2 separate regions of the Homo sapiens genome follow, and region 2 is linked to region 1. Evidence: promoter capture Hi-C in human tissues and cell types (Jung and others, 2019). All regions are on one chromosome and are shown on one strand. The core of a region is centred on a gene start or on the middle of the fragment in contact, and the rest is flanking DNA. Distances in the headings are between cores, read along the strand shown.

Evidence for each region. The method cuts DNA at HindIII sites, captures the fragments that hold promoters and counts their contacts. A contact is called where the count stands out against the background at its distance.
Region 2: a fragment that was not itself captured here is called in contact with the fragment with the promoter of ERVV-1 in region 1 in 5 of the 25 tissues and cell types used here (bladder, dorsolateral prefrontal cortex, heart right ventricle and 2 more).

What each region holds. Positions count from the first base shown.
Region 1 is chr19:53,012,205-53,018,280 of GRCh38, reverse strand. ERVV-1 (endogenous retrovirus group V member 1, envelope) reads right to left here and starts at 4,360. Exons shown (of 1, transcript NM_152473.3): 1 at 2,158-4,360. The coding sequence starts at 4,190. The coding sequence ends at 2,757. The region is part of intron 1 of LOC124904758 (a long non-coding RNA gene); the gene reads left to right. The HindIII fragment of the contact is 3,820 bases long and covers 3,352-6,076 here.
Region 2 is chr19:53,094,342-53,100,559 of GRCh38, reverse strand. The region is part of intron 1 of ZNF160 (zinc finger protein 160); the gene reads left to right. Among named protein-coding and RNA genes, the nearest start is that of ZNF160, 6.0 kb to the left of the region's middle. The HindIII fragment of the contact is 5,693 bases long and covers 924-6,218 here.

The DNA.
Region 1 (6,076 bases), core at 3,111-5,610:
AAGATCATGCCACTGCACTCCAACTTGGGCAACAGAGCAAGTCTGAGTTCCACCATATTATTTAATAAACATTAATAGAGGAAATGCTCTTTTTAGATCCTAACTGTAAGGGTATATTCAATTACATTTTTAAAAGCTATATCTCTAACCCATGATGATTAAAGTAAATGAGTGAAAACTCCGTTGGGTGTGGTGGCTCATGCCTGTAATCCCAGCACCTTGGGAGACCAAGGCAGGCTGATCATCTGAGGTTGGGAGTTTGAGACCACTCTGGCCAACATAGTGAAATTTCATCTCTATGAAAAATACAAAAATTAGCCAAGCAAGGTGGTGTACACCTGCAATCCCAGCTACTCAGGAGACTGAGGCACAAGAGTTACTTGAACCCAGGAAGCGGAGGTTGCAGTAAGCTGAGGTCACCCCATGGCACTTTGGCCTGTGCGACAGAGCGGGACTGTCAGAAATAGAAAGAGAGAGAGAGAAAGATTTATTCTATGTAATTCCCACTTATTGTAAAACTGAAAATAACAATGAATTATCAGTTTTATACCTACTTACGTAAAATTACTTCATCTTTCAATTAGTATTGCTATTACTGTTTATGGTTATGGAGCAGAAGCTCAGTCTGTTTTAGTTGCAATACGAGAGGGTGGTGCCTCATTTTGTGCTATGACTCCACAGTGGATGAGTGGAGAAAATTAGTAAATATTGTGCAAAACCAAACAATTTATATGTTTCTGATAAGATTTAAAAATTCTGTATTCCTTGTCTAGAGGGCAAAGCAAAGACTAGATTCTGTGGAGTCACTTATGAGCAAAAAGAAGCTGACAGCTTCAAAACATGTATTGATTAAGGTAGAAGCATTCACCAGCCACCAACTGGGATTGTTTATTTATTTTTTTCCTTTTTGGTGAGGATTTCTGGGTTTGGCAAATATTATTTTGTCTTTAATTATATTTTTCCCAAGATATAAAAAATGGAGTAAAGAGTGTTTCTTCAATGATTTCTTGGATAATTGAGTACAGTTTGTATTTACTAGTTTAGATATACTAAATCCTCCATTGCTTCTTCAGGAGGGATTGCACAAAGACCTTTGTTACCAGGAGGGGTGTGGAGGTCCTTCAGTTTATCTTCCTGAAGGAAAGAATTCATCTAGGAGGCACACAGAAAGAGTTAAATCGTTAAGTAACCTTTATTTAAAGACAGGAGGTCAAGAAGAGACAGAACTGGCTGCTGCAGAGAGTGAGTCAGCTGCTAGTGACTTAGGAGGAATTCCCCGCCGCCCTCCCCAGATGGAGTCTCCTGTAGCCCAGGCTGGAGTGCAGTGGCGCAATCTTGGCTCACTGCAACCTCCGCCTCCTGGTTTCAAGTGATTCTCCTCCCTCAGCCTCCTGAGTAGCTGGGATTACAGGTGCGTGCCACCAGGCCCGGCTAATTTTTTTGTATTTTTAGTAGAGACGGGGTTTCGCCATGTTTGTCAGGCTGGTCTCAAACTCCTGAGCTGTGATCTGTCTGAGGATCCGCCCAAGGAAGTGCAGGGATTACAGGCCTGAGCCACCATGCCTGGCCTGGGAGGAATTTTTATGGGGGCTTTTAAATAAACAGTACACCCTGAAAGACAGAACAGGCTGGGCTGCTCAAATGAATGAGTCTGTCTCACCAATGCTGGGGAGACGCTTCTTTTTGTTTGTTCGTTTTTTGAGATGGAGTTCCCCTCTCGTTGCCCAGGCTGGAGTGGAATGGCACGATCTTGGCTCAACACAACCTCTGCCTCCCGGGTTCAAGCGATTCTCCTGCCTCAGCCTCCCAAGTAGCTGGGATTACAGGCATGCGCCACCACGCCCAGCTAATTTTGTATTTTTAGTAGAGACGGGGTTTCTCCATGTTGGTCAGGCTGGTCTCGCGCTCCCGACCTCAGGTGATCTGCCTGCCTCAGCCTCCCAAAGTGTTGGGATTACAGGCGTGAGCCACCACACCTGGCTGGGGAGATGCTTCTTATGAGAATTTTACATGATTATTCATGAAGGGGTCATGCAGGGGCGTTACTAGTAAGCATGTGTTGGGAACTGGTCTGGGCACACATGTGCCATGTCATTTGGATCTAAAGTCTAACAAGGAATTTCTGGTTAAAAAATAAAATCTCCACACAGGTGTGTGGTTTTTTTTATTATTTTAATGAACAAAATGGTATATTAGGGTGAATTATTAGAGAAGTATACATGCTTCTTAGTGGGGAATAGCTCCTACCTTGGTAACCTCTGGCTGGGCCTTGATAAGTTCCCTTCTGGAACAGAGGAATGCAGCCACAAGGCCAGGTGTAGCCAGTGTAGCCACGCTCCTCCTTTTGCTGACTCAGCGTGCAGCGTTTCCAAGGAGGCCATCAGCGGGCTGCATTTCTAAAGATTCCTTTCCCAGGGGCTTCCTTGCCTGCTCTTGTCTGGCTACCTGCCTACCCTAACAGTATTCCCCCTCAAGAGTTGGAGACCCTGAAAAGCTTTGGGCATAAGGACGTCGTGGGTCTTCTGTAACTACTTCCTGCTGACGTGGGACGAAGAAGTCATCAGGGTCTCCCTCTCTTGCTCTCTGTCAGGGAAGGAGCCCCTCCGTAGTTGCAGAATCTTTGCCCACTGGCATCCAAGGGAGATATGTACTTGTAGGTGCTGGGACCTCCAAGGAAGATTGGATGATCTCTTTCCATTTTTAGGGGCTCTGTGTGAAATTGCCATATCCTGGAAGAGACATATTTAATTAGTGAATTATAGAGACAAGGGCCAAAGAGGAGAAAGCAGGCTATTAAGTGCAGCTGGTCCCAGTAAAGGGACAAACCATGTGAGGGAGGGGAGGGCAGACTTCACAGCCTCCCAAATGGACCCTGCTGAATCACCTTTTCCAAAGTTATGGAGCCACGTAACCTCATCATAGATCTTTTTTATATCCTCCTCTATCGCCCCACTGTTATTGACATAAATGCAACAGGATTTACTGATCACTGCACAGACTCCACCCTGCTCTGCTAAGAGGTAATCTAAGGCCAATCTGTTGTTCATGACTACATTTGCTAGAGAATCTATGGAGGCCTTGAGTTTAGAGATGCTATCTCTGGTACTCTTAGCTATGTTGTCTATTTGTCTGGAGAGATTTCTGAGGGTGACATCATGATAAGTGAACCCTCCCCATGGGGCGATCATTCCTATGGCCGCACCCATCCCTGCCAGTATTAGACCCAGAGCTCTTTTCTGTCTGGGTTGGGTGGTGTTATAAATGGTCACACCTATCCCCCGTGGTCCCAAAAGTCCCACAGCACATTCTCCCGTATGTTGGATGTTATTAATGCAAGTGTAGAGGTTTGCCACAGGGGGGGTTGAATAAGTTATCTTAGGACTTCCATCAAAGGGCAGTTTATTTTTTTGTGGCCCACATAAAAATACATAGCCAGGAGGGGTACAGGCCCACCGGGGGATGTGGCTGTCGAACCACTTGTGTAACTGCGATTTCCACCCTGCTGGAATAGTTTGATTGCATGCAGGGGATAGAGGCCCTCCCAGGGGAACAGTAGATTTTGGCCATGTGGGGACAGTGTGTGCCTTGGGAAGCAAATATAGAACCCTCCATGTGATTAGCTCTTTTCCTTCCCAAGCTGCACAGCGGTTTTGGGGTGACTTGTCTCGATAATCGTTCATTTGTTTAGCTGGACACCAGTGAGTCAAGTTAGGGTGGCAGCCTGCTGGGGAGAAGCTCATGGGATGGATGGTGGGACTGGGGAATCCCTCCTCAGAGGTGTTCTTCCTGTCACAGTGTCCTTCAGGGCATGGACAACAGGTTTGGTTTAGAGAAGAGCAGTTGTAGAAATAGAAAGAAGTTTTAGAGCTTTGATTGAAAGGTGGAGTGAGATCCAGGCAGGGGACTTGGTGCGCTGAGTTAGCAAGCGAAACCTGGAGCGGAACAGATTTATGTTGGCCTTCAGGGATTCCTGAACCAAATGTTAGGTTTAAAGAAAAATTTCTTACCAAAATATATTGGTAAGATGAGGACCTGGTGATGAAGTTGTGGCAGATCCAACAGTTGCTTAGATGGTTTCCCGAAGCAATTATTTTGGAAAAACTGACAAGGGAATTTTCATTCCACTGTGCCTGTGAGAGTAGGGGCATGGGAAGGAGGGAAAGATAAAGGAAAAGGAATTTCTCTGTCATAGCTGATTCTCCCTTAAGCTTTGTGAAAGCAAAAGGAAAGTGCTGAAAATAGGAGAGACAAATAATGAAATGGTTCGATGGAGTGTTTAGTGAGAAATCAGGCTGTTATCGGGACTTCAGGTGGCATGCCAGTGTGGGTCAAAATAAGGAGAAGAACCGATGCCACCGCAACCAAGATTCCCCGTACTGAGAGACCTTTTTTTGAGGTGAAAGGAGAGAAGGCTTTACTTATCTTTTCACTTGAAGAGGAATTGGAAGCTCTCCAGTGGCTGGCTCATGAGACTACTCAGATGCTGATTCTGTTGTTGGTTCTTCGGGACCTTCTCACAGTTTTACTCAGGAGTGATGTATCCAACTAGAGATTCCAGAAACTTTGATAGCTGTCGGGGTAGAAAGTAATAAAGGGGCCTTTCCATAAAGGAGAGACCCAGGCTAGTTGAGACCTGGGTGACCCATCTCTCCAGGTTTTGATGAGGACTTGTGACCCTGGCTAGTATAAGGGTTGATTACTGGAGGGGTCAGTGGCAGGCAGTACCTTTTGCTCAAACTCCTGGATGGCTTGTTGAAATTGGGCCAGTGATGTTATGTATTTGATTAATTGGGTAACTTCTGGATCTAACATTAGGTCTGCATGTAGGAAGGCATAAGTAATATTAGGGGTCATGCTCAGAACAGTGCTACGGACAGGAGTTCTAACCATGGTGAGGAGGTTTCCTGGCACACTTTGTTCAGGGTCCTTTTAATAGTTTGATTAGTGCTTTCTACCTTGCCAGAGGAATGTGTTCTCCAGGAGTGCTAGGAGTACTTTATTTCTAGGGCTTTTGTCACTAATTAAAGGGTGCGTGAAATAAAAACTGGGCCGTTGTCACTTTGTAAACACAAACTAAACCCACACTGAGGGGTGATTTTTTTTTTCTTTTTGTTTTTGAGACGGAGTCTCGCTCTGTTGTCCAGGCTGGAGTGCAGTGGCACAATCTCAGCTCACCACAAGCTCCACCTCCCGGGTTCACACCATTCTTCTGCCTCAGCCTCCTGAGTAGCTGGGACTATAGGCGCCCGCTACCACACCCACCTAATTTTTTCTCTTTTTTAGTAGAGACAGGATTTCACTGTGTTAGCCAGGATGGTCTCAATTCTCTGACCTCGTGATCCGCCTGCCTCGGCCTCCCAAAGTGCTGAGATTACAGAAGTGAGCCACCACGCCCGGCCGGGATGATTTTTTTTTTTTTTTTAAGAAGTACCTTGGCTACTTCCTGGGCCTTTTCTGTTCTTGTAGGAAAGGCTTTAACCCACCCAATAAAGGTGTCCACAAACACCAGAAGGCATTTATAGCCTCTACAGGCTGGCAATTGAGTGAAATACATCCATCAGTCTTTCCCTGGGTAAGCTTCCCAATGCTGAACTGGCTCAACTAAGCAGGACAGGGAGCTGCATTGGCTCTGGCCGGTTGTCCTGGGTCACAAGGAGGCAAGGCTACGCGTTTGAGGCCAACCTGGGCAACATTGAACAAAAAAAAAAATTTGGCTGGGCACGGTGGCTCATGCCTGTAATCCCAGCACTTTGGGAGGCCGAGGCAGGCGGATTACCTGAGGTTGGGAGTTCAAGACCAGTCTGACCAGCATGGAGAAACCCCATCTCTACTAAAAATACCAAAAAAAAAAAAAAATTTTTTTTGGTCTTTTTTTGGTGGCACCTGCCTGTAATCCCAGCTACTCAGGAGGCTGAGGCAGGAGAATCGCTTGAACTTGGGAGGGAGAGATTGCGATGAGCTGAGATCACGCCGTTGCACTCCAGCCTGGGTACTAAGAGTGAAACTTTGACTCAAAAAAAAAAAAAAAAAAAAAAAAAAGCAGGGCAGCGTAGGGCCCTGGGGGCTATTACAGGCA
Region 2 (6,218 bases), core at 2,521-5,020, 83 kb before region 1:
CGGCTCACTGCAAGCTCCGCCTCCCAGGTTCATGCCATTCTCCTGCCTCAGCCTCCCAAGTAGTTGGGACTACAGGCAGCCGCCACCACGCCCGGCAAATTTTTTGTATTTTTAGTAGAGATGGGGTTTCACCATGGTAGCCAGGATGGTCTCGATCTCCTGACCTCGTGATCCACCCGCCTCAGCCTCCCAAAGTGCTGGGATTACAGGCGTGAGCCACCACGCTCGGCCAACTTATTTGTTACTAGTCAGTTTTCTTCCCTTATGTCATCTCTTAAAATAGTGACCTGTGAACTACTAAGCAGATGTCCCCCTCAAGTCCCTTTTGTCAGTTCTATTTTCTGTAAATGTGGAAAGATGGGCTGGATTGACTCAAAACCTTATTCCAGCAGAGCTTATGTGTTCATGAAAAAATTTGCTGAGAGAGCTCATCTCTATAGCTGACAGTCTTTCACTGTTTTCAACACCAATAGCCATGTTTTCACAGTTCTGCGTTTCATTAGTATGTTGTGTTTTTCTGGAAAAGAGGAATTAAATGTTTGGGATCAATGTGATAAAGCCATGAAAGGGAAGTTTCTTTTGCCCAGGTATGTGAAAGAAGATCCTGGAATTTTCCAGGGGAGGCGTGAGAAAGTCTAGTGTTGCCCATTAGCCCTTCGAGGCCGTCATAGAGTCAGATACATCTTCTAATTCAACTTGGATGACTTAGTGAAACATCTCCCCGTCTAGCCCTCAGTAAATCCACCTGCAACGTGAAGGTGAGGGACTCAGTCAATATACCTCAGTCTGGGCAATACTAATCCCCTTAATGTTTGGCAGAATTGGGTGTACATCTGTGTTTTGCAGTTCTTCTAGGAATTGGGGAGTGCCCACTGCAATTAAAAATTTAAATGGGACTCAGTCCTTTAAAATTTAAAACAAAACAAAACCAAAACCACAAGGATGGAAGCTGGGGTGTAGACTCAGAGGCAGAGAGACCATCTTTGGAGGCCTTTCTCTGCATTAGAGTTATGGCTAAATCTAAAGCAGTCATGTCAGTCCCTGGTAGGGAACCCTCCACCGGCTTCCCGTGTTCCCCAGGACAAAAGCCCAACTCCTCACTGTGGCTCCACAGCCCTGCGTCCAGGGCCCCTGCCAGTGTCCAGCCTCCTCCTGGGAGCTTGCCCTCATCTCATGACTCCCTCTGCCCTAGTCACATTTGTTTTTCTCTTTTCCCAAACATCAAAACCTTTCCTGTCTCAGTCTTTGTCCCTCCTCTTACCCTATGTCCCCAAATCATCACAGCTCTGTCCCTTTCTTCTCCTTCGGGTCTAGCCTCAGAGCTGTCTTCCACCCTCTTGCACCCCCATCTGAAATTCTCTCTGCCTGTCAGTCTCTACCACGTTACTCAGGTTTCACTGTCTCCGCATCCATCACCACATCGGACACTCTTCTGCATGGATTATTTTGAGTGTTTTGTGTCTCCATCTTGGCCACGGGACGACTGCAGCACCTGCTCTGGGGTTGTGGTTCAGATGCTGGGGCTGGGGTCGGGCTGAGGAGTCCTCAGGGAAGACCAAAAGGATAGGGCGGGTAGTGAGGATGGTCTCATATTCTGGAAATTTCATCCGTAATTGGTCTAAACTTCCTGTGGCTATTTATTCCAGTCTATGTAAGAGCAGAAGGCCTCACTGAGGCCTGAAAAGCCCCGCAGACCCTGTGTCCTCAGCCAGTGCCGAGGCGTCCCCACCGCCTTACTCCAGCTCCCGGGTCTTCCGCGCTCTACACATCACCGGGGCCCGGTGGCCATCCTGGGCAGGGGCTTTGCCTTCCAGCAGGTGATGCGCTCGCAGTCAGGGGTCCTGGATTCCCTTCAGGAAGGGTGGCGAGAAGTTCAGAAGCTAAGTGGGCCATGAAGGAGGCACTCCCTAAACAGCGGGGGAATTTTGCAGGGGACTGTGAGTGGAGAGACAAGGGGACAATGGCAGCCTCCCTCATGAGATCTGGGGCCTCTCTTTTTCTTGGACATCCTCCGCCAGCTCAATCCGGCCAATCTTCACCTGCCTTTAAACTGGATTCCATGGTGTCCCCAAATTGGGGGCAATTCCTTCCAGCATGGCCAACTTCTAGAATCTAGACTTGAGGCCCACTGTCCTGCAGATAGCAGTTTGTGTCCATTCCTGCCGCATCGCTTGTGTCCAGAGGCCTTTCAATCCAGTGTGCTTCTCAGGCTGGAAGAGAAGTAGAAAAATGGGGACAGGTGAAGAAGTCCTTAGAGGTGTGGAGTGAGGCGTGGAAGCAATGCTGAGCCTCTAGAGGAGCTGGATGAATGCTGCATGCACCTGGCCCACAGGTGACTGTGGGCTCACGGGATGTGTGGCACACTTGGAAAGAAGTCTCAGGTCTGGCTGTAGCACCTGGAAGTGGGTTTTGGGGTGGTTGTGGGGCTGCAGGATCATTTTGTAATGCCCTGATGTCTCAGCTCAGGTTACCTGGGAAACAGATGCTGACACAGAGATTTGCATGCAGGAATTTAATTCGGAAACTCATCATCACAGTGAAGAGGACTGAAGGCAGTGGAATCAGGCAGAGAAAAACATCCCGAAGTGTACTTAGAACCAAGACCTAAGCTGAGCCCAGAGGGAGCTTCAGCAGCAGGAGGATGGGCGCCTTGGCCTGAGGGTGTGGATCCCAGAGCTGCTCCACAGCATCCGCTCCACGGGGTGATTTCTGTGGAGGCTTTGGGAAGTGCAAAAACCATCCTGAAACCCATAGAGGAAAGATAGGAAGAATCTCAGAGATTATTTTCTGGGTTGCCTTTGGCATTCGGGGTATTTTCAGTTGCAGATCAATAAGCTTTCAGTTGTGTTTTGGAAGATGAAATGATCATTTGGAGTGTTTCCTTTCCTGATGTTGGGGTCTAATTGCATCATTAGAGACATCTCTGTTTTATTGGTAGGTTTCAGTGGTATTCCCCTGTGGGGTGGAGTCACTATGAGTGGAAATACGTTGCCCTGGGTCAGTGAGTTCCTGGGGTGTTTGTGTATATTATTCCATGAGTTACTGGGGCTTGTGAGATTTCATAACAGGGCTTCTGGATCTTTATGAAGTATCTGGGGATTGTGGGATCTTTATGAAGTATATGGGGAGTGTGGGAGTTTGTAAGCGTGTCTGAGTCCAGAGGGCAACGGGGATCCTAAGAATCAGGCGCAGATGGCTTTCATTAGGGAGGGTTTGTTGTGGGGGCGTCTGTGGGTGCAACTCAAGAGGGAGTGATTATCAGGGTCCCAGAGTAAGGGAAAGATTTCTCCAAGAATCAGAGTGAAACACAGCACACTGACCTGCGGCCCAAAGGCTTCCACTGGGACTGTCCTTGGGAAGATAAAGCTGCCACATTCTTGCAGCCAGGCCGGTGGCCTCTCCCTGTTTATTCCAAGATAACAGAGTCACAGAGTCACAAGGCAGCTGGGGAGCTGAGGGGCAAGGTCCTTGAAACCCGCTGTGGAACATGGACCTTTCTCCAGTGCAGAGGGGCCACGGGGCCCTGGGAAGGGAGTTGGAGGGTTACAGCCCTGGTCATGGCAGGGAGACGCAGGAACTGGAGGCAGGAAGAGCTGTGTTCATCCCCACAGGGTGCCCCTCCGCTCAGGAATTTGTGCAATAGAATGGGGTGAGCTAATGGGGTCACATTTAGGGAAAGGAGTCTTTCTGTCCACCCAACACACATCTCATCCTATGCACACGCTTCTCCCTTTCCCCGTTGTCCTCTCTATGATGGGAAACTAATGCTTCCCCAGGCGGGTGATTGAGGGAGAGGACGGGTTGGTCTGTTTGTCTCTCTCCTTTCTCCCCTCCCTCAGGTCTCCTGCCTGCCTTTCTGCTGCTCTGTTCAGACTCTCACTTCCTGCAGTTCTGCAGTCAGTTTGCCCCACGCAAGACCCAAGGATCTGGGTCTGTGAATAATATTCAAGCCAACATCATTGCCAAGTGAGAAATCTTAGACCCCAGGACCTTTTTTCCATGGAGGGGCCTGGGCACAGAGACAAACTCTTCTTTTTGCAGAATTTAGGGTCTTTTATTGGCCACGTGGGTCTGCTGAGCCTCAGACAGGGATCCCATAGTCAGCCAGATGTGTTTCTGGGTGGACTTGCGCTTGCCCTTCCACAGGTTGGTAAGCAGAGTGGTCTCCATGAAGGGCCCTTGGCTCTGCCCCTCAGTTAGTCCTGCTCAGCTCCCTTCTCACGAAAAAGACCACCCCAAGGACAAACATGCAGTCCACCCCTGCATACATCAGTCTCCCAAAGTGAAGACCATAAAAATGGCCTAATATTTCATTCATTCATTCAGTTATTTATTTATTTTGAGACGGAGTCTCGTTCTGTCTCCCAGGCTGGAGTGCAGTGGTGCGATCTCAGCTCACTGCAACCTCTGTCTCCTGAGTTCAAGCAATTCTCCTGCCTCACCCTCTGGAGTAGCTGGGACTACAGGCATGTGCCACCACTCCTGGGTCATTTTTTTGTATTTTTAGTAGAGACAGGGTTTTACCATGTTGGTCAGCTGGTCTTGAACTCCTGACTTCATATGATCTGCCCACCTCGGCCTCCCAAAGTGCTGGGATTACAAGCATAAGTCACCGCACCTGACCATATATCATTTCCTTTTAATTATTTACTTATTTAATTTTTACTACACTCCCATTTTAGCAATACTAATATTTCATTTAATGTTGCTATTATTATTTACTGTTATTGAGACAGAAGCTTTGTGTTAGACGCTGATCTCATGTAACGTGACTCTTTTATAATTGTGCTTAGGATTCCACGGGAGATGAGTGAATAAACGACTGAACATTGTGCATAAACAGACAATTTATATATTCATAAGATTAAGACATTTTGTATTCCTCATCCGTTATGCAAAGCAAAGACTAGACACTCTGGAGTCATCTCTCATGAGAACAAACCTGCGGACAGCTGGGAAGCACACCAGCCACCAACTGGGAGTATTAAAAAGAGCAATCCAGTCTCCAAATCAAGGGGAGGGTTCAAATCATAGACAAGCTGCAGAGCCACCGGGTCTCAGAGTTTCCCGCGGAAACGCTGGGACTCGCTACCAATCCCATGAGCGCACCTGGGGATTTTAACGTCTGGTGGGATGGTGGATTCCGAGTGTGGTTGGACAGGGCTGGAGTGCCCTGAAAGGCCTGAATGCTCTCCTGCCGGTGAGAAAACTGGAAGCGGATTCTGGGAGGGAGCTGTCGCCAGCGAGAGGCGGGTCTTGGATAGTGGGGAGAGGCCAGGTGGGGAGGGTGGAAGCCACCGTGAGGTGGGGTCTGGGCAATGGGAAAGGGGTGCAAGAGGGTCGTGTGGGAGGGTGGAACTGCTGTGGGCGGGGCCTGGGCAGTGGGGAGGGGGCGGGGTGAGGAGGGTGAAAGTCGCCCTGGGGTGCGGTCTGGGCAATGGGAAAGGGGTGGAAGAGGGTGGGGTGGGAGGGTGGGACTACCGTGGGGGCGGGGCCTGGGCAGTGGGGAAGGGGTGGGGTGAGAAGGGTAAAAGTCGCCCTGGGCTGGGGTCTGGGCAACGGGAAAGGGCTGGAAGAGGGCGGCGGGATGGGAGGGTGGAAGCTGCTATGGTGCAGCCTGGGCTGTGGGAAGCGGGCAGGGCCGGGAAAGGAGCGGGCCTGGGCTCTCTACTCCTCTTGGCCCCAGGTCATTTTCTGCTATGTCAGCCTTTCTCTCCACTAGGACTGGATCAACAGCATTGCACTGCTAAAATAAAGTTTCAGCTAATTGAAATTAGCCGGGGATGCTTCCTGCTTATTTTCAGTTAATAAGCAGGGATGCTTCCGGCTTATTTTCAGTCCAGGGACGCTTCCTGCTTATTTTCAGTTAATCCAACATTTCAAACAATTTAAGGCAAAAGAACAGAATGGTACTGGGCCACTTAATTGAAGGCTAAGGTTTTTTTACTCTTACATTGAAAACGATTTAAGTGAAAAACTCATTTTGTTTGCAGGTGGAGACAGGCATCCTACCATTAAGAGGATCACAACTCATCTTAGCTCAGGGTACCAGGAGGGGTGCAGGGGCATCAGCGGATGGTCCCTGTGGGGCAGTGGTTTCATCCTGGAACTGGCAATTAGAACCGTTTAATTAATCCGGGACCTGATTTGTCTGTTTAGAGGATGAAACGAAGGTGAAATTTCTACTTGTGCTGTGTTCAGTTTCATAGTGACAACGA